Linked DNA regions of Homo sapiens: regions 1 and 3 are each linked to region 2. The links are contacts of gene promoters, found by promoter capture Hi-C in human tissues and cell types (Jung and others, 2019). All regions are on one chromosome and are shown on one strand. Each heading gives the region's core, a stretch centred on a gene start or on the middle of the fragment in contact. The rest is flanking DNA. Distances are from core to core; before and after follow the strand shown. Region 1 has its middle 180 kb from the start of MUSK. Region 2 holds the start of LPAR1 (lysophosphatidic acid receptor 1). Region 3 has its middle 150 kb from the start of MUSK.

Region 1 (3,031 bases), core at 456-2,955, 190 kb before region 2:
TGAATTTTATCTGGCTGCTTTCTAGCCTCCAAGTTTCATTCATTAGCCCCTCAGAGGAGAGCTCTGACAGTGTAAACAAGGTGGATCTTCCCAAAAGTATTAAGAATTAGCATAGATATGAGTCCTAATCACTTTTCCTGTTGGTCAAAGGTAATGAGATGTTTCTGCTCAGAAAAGTCAGTCATTGAAAGACTTTGTCTGTGATCATTCCATTTGGGAGGCCCAGCACTCACACAAATAGCAGCATTTCTCTGCCTCTGAACGTGACCTTCCTTATACATTTTTGTGACACGTTCTAACCACACCCCTCTATCCCTGTTACATTATATCCAGTCATATCTCAAGCTGTTGGGGCAACTGGCCAGTCCCAAATGCCTCCAAAGCTGATATGCAAGTCCATGAAGTCCCTGTGTGTGTATTGGGGGTGAGGGTTGGGGGTGAAAGATGAATCTAACTCCCTCTGGTAAAGGCAGGCTAAGCCTTGAACTAATCAAGGCAGGTCAGACTCTCTCTGAATTCCTCTCACAGTAGCTCATTGAAAAACGTTTCCTAGATGAATCCTTTATGACCCAAAGGGAAAATATTCCAAGGCTTTCCAAGAATATTCCAAGAATATCAGACTACTATCACAACTACCAAATTTAAAACATAATGAAGGCAGTAAACAATAGAAGAGATATTTCAGACAATCTTAAAGTCAAATTAGAAACTCAAGCCATACTTAAAAATGTTGGCATGTTTCCCTAAAATTTCCTCAAGCATGATTTTCACTGTTTCTCCCAAGTTTAACTGGACATGGTTTTGGGGGAAACAGGGAGGCACATGGAGAGTTGACATGGATCTCCTGGAACCTAGATGGTCCATAGAGCAAAACTTTTCTCTTGTCTGGGGCCACCTGTGATAGCAAAACAAAGACATAGGGCTTATGTGAGAGTAGCCTGTTGATATGGTTTGGCTTTGTGTCCCCACCCAAATCTCATGTTGAGTTGTAATTCCAAATGTTGAAGGTGGGTCCTGGTGGGAAGTGATTGGATCATGGGGGTGGTTTCTAGTGATTTAGTACCATCCCCCTAGTGCTGTCTCGTGATTGAGTTCTCATGATACCTGGTTGTTTAAAAGTGTGTAGCACCACCCCCTTCACTCTCTCTCCCTCCTCCTCCAGCTGTGTCGAGCATGCCTGCTTCCCCTTCATCTTCCACCATGATTGTAAGTTTCCTGAGGCCTCCCCCAGCCATGCTTCCAGTACAGCCTGCAGAACAATGAGCCAACTCAACCCCTTTTCTTATAAATTACCCAGTTTCAGGTAGTTCTTTATAGCAATGTGAGAATGGATTGATATACCTATCCATAAAGAATTTGGGATGAGATTTTCCTAATGGGTTATATGAGAGTTTCAGACCTTCTCAGAGTAGCAGTGAAGTTCAGTGAAGCCTAGTTTGAGTCATCTTGCAAGGTCTCTACCTGAGAAATTGGCCAGGGCAAGGGGACCTCAGTGATAAGAGCTCTGTAGTCTTAACCTGAGAAGCAGAAGCTGACAGTAACAAGACATCAGAGGTGGCAGATGGAGACTGCATTACTAATACTAGGGAGTAGTGCCAGATCAAAAATCCCCAGATAATCTGCAAAGAATTCATAAAAGTGACCCATGAAAGAAAAACAGTAACTGAGAACCTAACAGGCAGGAGGTTCCAGTGTTAGATTATGGCACAAAAGCCACATAAGCCATTGTCCTTTTCTTTTAATACCTCTCACACTTCCACGATGCCCCAAAATCATGAAATAGCAGTCAGTGAACAAAAGAGCACAAAGGGAAAGACTCTTCAAAACTTTCAGGGGCATCAAAAAAAAAAAAAAAAAAGCAAAGCCTGAGAAACTGTCACAGTAAAGAGAAGGCTAAGGAGATATGATAACTGAATGAAATACGGTATCTTAAATAAAATTCAGAAACAGAAAAAGGACATTAGGAAAAACTAGTGAAATCTGAATAAACTGTGAACTTTAGTTAATAATAATGATCGATATCAATTCATTCACTATAACAAACATACTATAGAAATGTAGAGTGTTAATAATAGCAAAAACCAGGTATAGGGGATGTGGGAACTCTATAATCTTCCTAAGTTTTCTGTAAATCCAAAACTGTTCTAAAACATCGATTTTATTTTTTTTTCAAAGGTAGATGAGGGATACCAGTTAAGAGGCTGTTAAATTAATTTAGAGGCTGATGATAGGAACTGGGACCAGAGAGGTAGCAACTGAAATGGAAAGCAGGTATTTGAATTTGAGTTACATTCTAGAAATAAAGCAGGCCACACTTGCTACAGGATTGTGTTGTGAATGAAGAAAAGGAGGTACTGAAGGTGCCTCTGAATATGGGTCTTAAGTGACTGGATGGCTAATAGGGTGTGTTTGTTGAGATAGGTATTGGGATAGGAAAAGGTGATGGTTATTTTGGGGCAGCGGAAGAGAATGGATGTGAAGTGATTTGTTTTAGATATGTTAGGTTTGAAAGGTCTATTAAACAGCAAGATGAAGTTGTCAGGTAGTTTGGGATTCAAGGGAGGGCACAGGGCTAGGCACATATATTTAAAAGACACGTTGGTATATTTAAAGTCCTATTATAATTGACAGAAATCAGTGAGATAGTATTTAGAAGAAGGCCCAGGACCAAGCCCTGGGGCACTACAATATTTAGAGATTATGAAGAGGAAAAAGAACCAGACAGGCCGACATTGAAGGTGCAGCCATAGAAGTAGGAGGAAAACAATGGAAGCATTTAATTATGGAAGCCTAGTGAAGAAGATGTTTGTCAAACCCATCAAATGCTGCTGAGTAAGAGAAGATAAGAGAAATGACCACCATATTTAGAAAGACAAGAGTGCTTTTAAGAGAGAGGTAGAAATAAAAGCCCGATTAGGGTGGATTAAAAAGAAAATTTTTAATGTCTTTTTTAAAAATTTGAAAAGGTGGTGGCTCACGCCTGTAATCCTAGCACTTTGGGAAGCCAAGGCAGGCAGATCACTTGAGGCCA
Region 2 (3,216 bases), core at 309-2,808:
TAGGTGACATTCTACCTCCCTGTGTATTTTAATGATGTTTAGTTTGGTTCAAATAACCATACCTCTAAAATACACCCTTTTTCCTTGGGACCCACTCTTCTATCCGGCAAGGGAATAACTTCTTAAAAAACTTCGCATTTTCCAAGTGTACAGTCTCCCCTTAACCAGAACTGCAGACTCTGAATCACAGACCTCTGGCTTACCAATTATGCTTAGCTGAGCAAACACACTTATGCAAATACGTGAAAAACAAACTGTTAGAGCCTGAAGGAATAGAGGATTTCGCTGTGATCATCAATATGTGATCATCACATTTTCAATATTTATGTTTACCAATATCTATCTAACCCCATAGGAAACGACGCGTCCATAGTGAAACAAGCCAGCACCCACATTTATGAAAAAATCCACGGATTTCAACAAAAATGAAGAGAGGAGAGCAGAAGCGGAGAGCCACAACCTCAGGCCCCAGACAGCAGGCAGCAGCAAGTCCTGAATGCCTTCACTCTTAACATTGCAAAGACCAAATGGCAGCAAAGAAAAACAAGAATAAACTTTAAATCCATTCACCACAAAGGAGTCCTACGCAAGTCAAAGGAGCCGTCGATTTCAAAACCATCAACTTTCAAAGCCAGGTCCCTCCCTTGCCTTACAACCTCCTGTTACTTGTTAAGCACGTTTGTTAGGCGGCTGGACAGAAACTTAGTTAAAAGTCCTCAGCCCGGTGGTGGGGGACAACCGAGTCGTCAGTGGGAAGCGAGAGGTGCGGAGCCCCAGGGGCGCAGGGACCCCTCGGAGGTGCAAGTCCAGCGGGACGAGGTTTTGGGAGAATTTCGAGGGCCCCTCGCAAGCCCTCCCGCGCACCCACCCCGACCCAGGTAACCGGAGGCCACCTACGTGTCACTGGGCGGGCCCCGGGGCGCACTGACCTGGCGCGGGACAGGAGGGCCGGCGGCCCGGGCGGCTGCGGCAACTTCCCTCCAGGGGCTCGGTCCGCCGCTGGGTGCGGGAGGCCAGGGGAGCCTCGCCTCCTGCAGGCCGGCTCGCAAGAACGCACGGCCACCCACCCGCGCCGCGGCCCACAGCGCGCACCCACACTCTCACTGGCACTCGCACGCGCGCCCCCAACCACAAAGCCCGTCCGCGGCGGGACAGTGTGAGCCCAGCGCGCCGTGTGGCGGGCCGAGCAGTCGCCGCGGCCTCTGGCTTCGCGCCCAGGGGGCGCCGTCCCCACACGCCGCGCCGGCCCCCTTACCTGCGCTCGCTGCCGCCGCGCGTCCCTCTCCTGCCGCCCCCGGGCTGGCTTCAGGCCGCGCGCCCAGTCCCGGCGGCCCCCGCCCCACCGCCAGCCGAGCCCGGCCCTCCGCCCGCCCCTCGGCAGTCGCCCAGAGCGGGGCCGCCCCCTGCGCCCACCCCGCCGGGGTCCCGTGCTCGGCCGGGCGGCGGGGAGGGCTCCGCGGCTCCGGGCCCTGGCCGCCCCAGATCCGGCCCGCGCTCCGCAGCGGGGCTGGAGACGGAGTCGCCACTCAGGGAGCGTCAGCCGCCAGTCGGCCCCTACTGCCCGGCTTTGGCGCGCTGGCAGGAGGAGGGGGCGCAGAGGGAGGGCCAGAGGAGCAGCGCCGACGCCAGCCTCCTCTCTTCCTCCGCCTTCCTTCTTTTCTGCTTGTTCCACGTAGCACAAGTCAGCAACACCCGAACCCCCAGAGTCCGCCCTCCCCGCTCCCAAGCTGGACCCCTTACCTGGTGTGGCGCCCCCAGCGCCCCTGACCTCTGCGCCCCCTCCTCCATTCATTGGCTCGACAGCCCACGGTGGTGGCAGGGCCGGGGCTGGGGGGTGGCCTTAGCCTCCCATTCATTATCTCAGCAGCCTCCCCCGCCCCGCCCCCGAGTCGACACACCCGCAGCGGGAGACCCGTGGCCGCCAGCTCGGGTCCCACCCCCGCCCCTCCTGCGCTTACCCCAGCGCCGGACAGCTGGCAGGACTCCGGTGGACGCCCCGGCACGGGGCATTTTCACGTTGTCGCTCTCCTCTTCCCACTCGAAAAGCTCTGGAAAACATCGCGGGGCCCGCAAAACCCCGGAAATGTGGCCTCTCTTTCGTGGCTCACTTTCTAAACTTTCCAGAAGGCGCAAAGTTTCTCCCAGCGCCGCCCTGCACTGGAGGCTGCGAAGAACGCAGAAGCGGCTTTGCTGCTAGGAAGGTGCATACGTTTCTAGTTCTGATTTTTCACTTCACTGGATCTGTAAACGAAAGCAAGTGTGTCTGCTCCCCTAGTTCTCCATATCCACGATTATAAATTTCTCTTCCGCTTTCCCAGTGTAGCTTTGCAAGTGTAAACTATCAATTTTAGTGAGAGTAATTAAGGGCGGGGACTGCACACCTGGAGGTGTGGGTGGGAGCGGCGCGGGACTAAGGCCTAGGGAACATTCTCAGGAGAGTGGCAGCCACAGGGATTCGCCCAGGTCTTATAACACACCCACTCGATGGGGTCTCCCTAGCCACGCCACCTCACAACACCCATCTCCCACTTCTGGCTTCCCAGGATTTCCGGAGTGATCACAATTATCGGCCTCTCGCTCCACAGCTAAGGCCACCGCATATCAAAAATAGCAGCGTGTGAGTAAAAGTTTCATGAGCCCTCGCCTTGAAATGGCACAGAGGACACAGCACACCAGCAGTAAGGCATGGGGACTCGGCAGGACTGATCTGATTGAGAGAAACGCAGGACAGCGAGGCGGGGCTATGTTGGTGGTGGCCACCAGGTAACCGTGGGCTTTGCAGAAGAGAAAGGTCACTGCAAACCGTAGCTGGACGGAAACTTTTCAAGCCTCAAGTGAGTTATGCTGTGACGGGACCATGACCATCTCCCACCGGTGACTGCTTAGAACCTTGACCAAGCTCGTGTGGTTTTCACAGGATGCTCAGGGCTGAGTCCTGGCTGTAAATAATTTACTATCTAAAGCTGTTTCCTTTTAAAAACAATGGTTCTAATCTTTTTTTTAAAAAAAATCATTCAAATCTTTTTTAAAAATCCACTTTAAATAACTTTGCTTTCTATACCTTTCCTACGAATATATGATTTATTTTATAACCTACTATGTGAAAAAATTGAAATTTTAGTACATGCACAGTGCTAATATGTTCATGCACAATGCTACTTATGTTTGTGTACGGCATGCAGAAATGTGTATAGATATGTATACCCATGAATACAA
Region 3 (3,117 bases), core at 207-2,706, 220 kb before region 2:
AGCAGCAAGAGTGTTGTGGGCAATAACTACAGCAGTAGAGCTGATGGACTGATTTCTCCTTCTAGTTCCTTGTCTCCTCTGGGATGTTGAAGCACAGCTAGTCTTTTTTGCCTGGGGTCCTTGGACAATTGAGGATACAGAAGGAGAGAACATAAGAGGAGGAATTGGTGGGTGTTTGAAGTAGTAATTGAAAAAATTAGACATGTGAACATGCTTGTGTCCCAAGCTGGAAAAACAGGTCAATAAATACACATACTATCAGAGTCACAGTAAATGCATGTACTGTCAGAGTCACAGATTTGTTTACAACCAGAGAAAATACAGAAAAATGTAGCTTCTTTGTTGCTTCTTCAAGTATTCTCACCTGCTGTGTAGAAAGGAAATCTATCTTTGAGCTTACTACAGTAAATTTGGTCCACCAACTTTATTTAGCAGTCCTTGTAGAAACTCAGTCATCTCCTATAAAATTCTGTGGCTCTCAGATTTTTAGATGGAGTGACACATCCTCTGTCCTTCTTCAGGATGGGATATGGGCAGTGGTAAAATGATTACCTCACCTTATGAGAGCAACAAAGAGGACCCAAGATTACATGCAGTGCCTCTGGATTCTTGCTGGTCCTTACAGCAGAAATCTTGTCTGTGTGTCTCCTTGACTGTGACCACTGAGGCAGAGGCTACTGGTCACAAACTAGTATGTATGACCAGAGACCACAGCCAAAGGCATTTGGCCCTGTCCCAAAGTCTCTACCTCCTACCTAAGGTGTACAAAAAAAATAAAATAGGTCAATTGAAAATAGCTGAAATATTGAGGGATATTTAGAGTACAAGAGTACTCACAGCAGTATTGCAATTACAATGTGTATACGAAGGCCTTATTGACTTGATTTACATTTTTTTCTTCTTTCAATATGTTCTAGTTAGTTGAACAGATTCCCAAACAACCCAAAATATTTTTGGTTTAAGTACTAGGAATTATAATTATACACCTTTCATGAATGAATGGTCAAACAAAATTCCTGCCAGAGATAAGTTTTCCAGTGTTCTGACAAAAGGACATGCTATCAAGCATGTGTTGACAGCCATTACAATGACACTGTGTACATCTAGTCAAGACGTTTTTTCACTTCTCCAAAGCCAGAAAAATGGAGAAGCCTCCCACCAAAACTTCAAGAGAAAGGATGAGAGTTGCTCACCCTCCCTAAACTTTAAATTCAAAGAAGGGGGCAACTAAACTGGAGCTTTGTGTTGTTGGACAACCCCTGTCTGTGGACCAGCAGTGCAGGATGGGCAATTTGCCTAAGCAGCTGTGAGCCTGGAATCTCTTGGGCAGAATCATTGGCTTGAGAACAGTTTATCTCCAGGAAATTTCTTTGCTGGGGGCAAGTGGAGGGGGGCAGAAAGGTCTACTTTACTTGAGATGTTTCTCAGCAGATAAGTTTCCAAAAATCCTCATTCATATCTAAATATGTCTTCCCTAGAGAGACTGAACAAGGTTCTAAGAGCTGTAGAACAGTTTTAGAAGAAAGTGCTCAAAGTTAGGCTAAACCTATAATTCCTACAGGCAATTTGCTCCTGGAATAGTTAGCACCAAAATCACATAGGGGGGTTTTATGGATGTGTACCTTTTGAACAGAAATCTTTAAAACTAATTCTTTTTTGTGTTAAAAAGGAAAACATGAATAGTAACATGCTAAGATATAAAATGGACGATGTTACATATAAATTGATTTACTTATGTTCCTTAACTTGAAGATTTAGTGCTTGGTAATCTTAATTTGGGAGGGGTTTATTGTGAGGTTTTTCATTTTAGATAAGCTTCCAGTTCAAGATGGAAGAGGAAACACATGTGTTTGTCTCAATACCTGTGGCCTCAGTAGACTACAGATTGAAAACATATGTGGAATATGGAAAGCAGATTGGGGTCAGGCTGACAGATAACAGAGCACAGGAAACAAGAGAACGAGGCAGTAGAAGCCATTCTTCATGGCTGAACCCTTGATAGGCTTCTGGCTAGGCAGAGGCAGGCATAGAGAGTAGAAAGGGAAACAGAAAGAGAAATCTCCTTCAGCCACTAGAATGCCTGCTCTGCTCAGCCAGCCTCTCTGTTCCAGGCCCCTGACTATACAGAATGATGGGTGGCACCACCATTTAACCAAAGTAGAAGCTATTCTCTAAAATAGTAAATAATTTATTTGGGTAGGATTATAGTTACCCTTGGTGATCCAGGTACTTCAGAGAACTTCATAGGCTTTAGTTTAGAGAGCAAAAGTGATGAGCAAATAGCCAAACACCAAAATGAGGATTCAGGAGAAAGGCCTATTGAAGGAAAAATCTATAGAAAAAGCTCACAGCTGTGCCTGAGTTTCACCAATCCATTCCTTCACGAAGAGAGACTCAAGCATTAGCAGATAGCCAAGACAAATCACGACACCAGTGAGAGGAATCAAATGAGCACATTACAAAAATAATAATGACCCCTGAGGAAAAAGCAATTTTTCACAGAACTGAGACGATCTAAGGAAAAAATTCTGATTTGTATTCTCAGGGAAGCTTGATAGGATATTCAGATATTGCATCCAAAACTATAAAAACAGGTTGCTATAGAAAAGGAGAAAAAAAAGTTTTCTTTTAAAGTTTAAGTAGTTTAGCTAAAAGAGAAAAGTCAATATGAGAATATATGGTTGTCAGCTGGGTGGCCATGGAAATGCTTGAGTCACACCTTCCCCAACTACAGGCAGTGCAGCTTGCAGCTCTAGGAGAAGCTCCTTCCCTGTGCTTAAGGAGGGGAGAGAGAAGAGTAAAGAGAAGTTTGTCTTGCAACTTGGATACCAACTCAGCCACAGTAGGATAGGGCACTTGGCAGAGTCCTTGAGGCCCCCAATTCAGACCCTAACTCCTGACATTTCTGGACACACCTTGGGCCAGAAGGGAATCGGTTTCCTTGAAGGGAAGGACCCATTCTTGGCAGGATTCATCACCTGCTGACTAAAGAGCCCTTGGTCCCCAAATAATCAGCAGTGGCAGCCAGGCAGTACTCGCTATGAGCCTTGGATGAGACTCAGAGCCCTGCTGGCTTCAGGTGTGACCAAGCACATTCTCAGCTGAGATAGCTACGGG

The links. Contacts are between HindIII fragments. The study calls those that stand out against the background at their distance.
Region 1: a fragment that was not itself captured here is called in contact with the fragment with the promoter of LPAR1 in region 2 in 1 of the 25 tissues and cell types used here (hippocampus).
Region 3: a fragment that was not itself captured here is called in contact with the fragment with the promoter of LPAR1 in region 2 in 6 of the 25 tissues and cell types used here (IMR-90 fibroblasts, aorta, dorsolateral prefrontal cortex and 3 more).

Annotation. Positions count from the first base shown.
Region 1 is chr9:110,842,725-110,845,755 of GRCh38, forward strand. No RefSeq gene overlaps it. Among named protein-coding and RNA genes, the nearest start is that of MUSK, 180 kb to the left of the region's middle. The HindIII fragment of the contact is 3,872 bases long and covers 1-3,031 here.
Region 2 is chr9:111,036,912-111,040,127 of GRCh38, forward strand. LPAR1 (lysophosphatidic acid receptor 1) reads right to left here and starts at 1,559. Exons shown (of 6, transcript NM_001351411.2): 1 at 1,256-1,559. It overlaps LOC124902248 (a long non-coding RNA gene), which reads left to right and starts at 17. Exons shown (of 2, transcript XR_007061732.1): 1 at 17-878; 2 at 2,544-3,216. RefSeq lists a silencer at 989-1,328. The HindIII fragment of the contact is 11,259 bases long and covers 1-3,216 here.
Region 3 is chr9:110,819,291-110,822,407 of GRCh38, forward strand. No RefSeq gene overlaps it. Among named protein-coding and RNA genes, the nearest start is that of MUSK, 150 kb to the left of the region's middle. RefSeq lists an enhancer at 1,972-2,181. The HindIII fragment of the contact is 4,406 bases long and covers 1-3,117 here.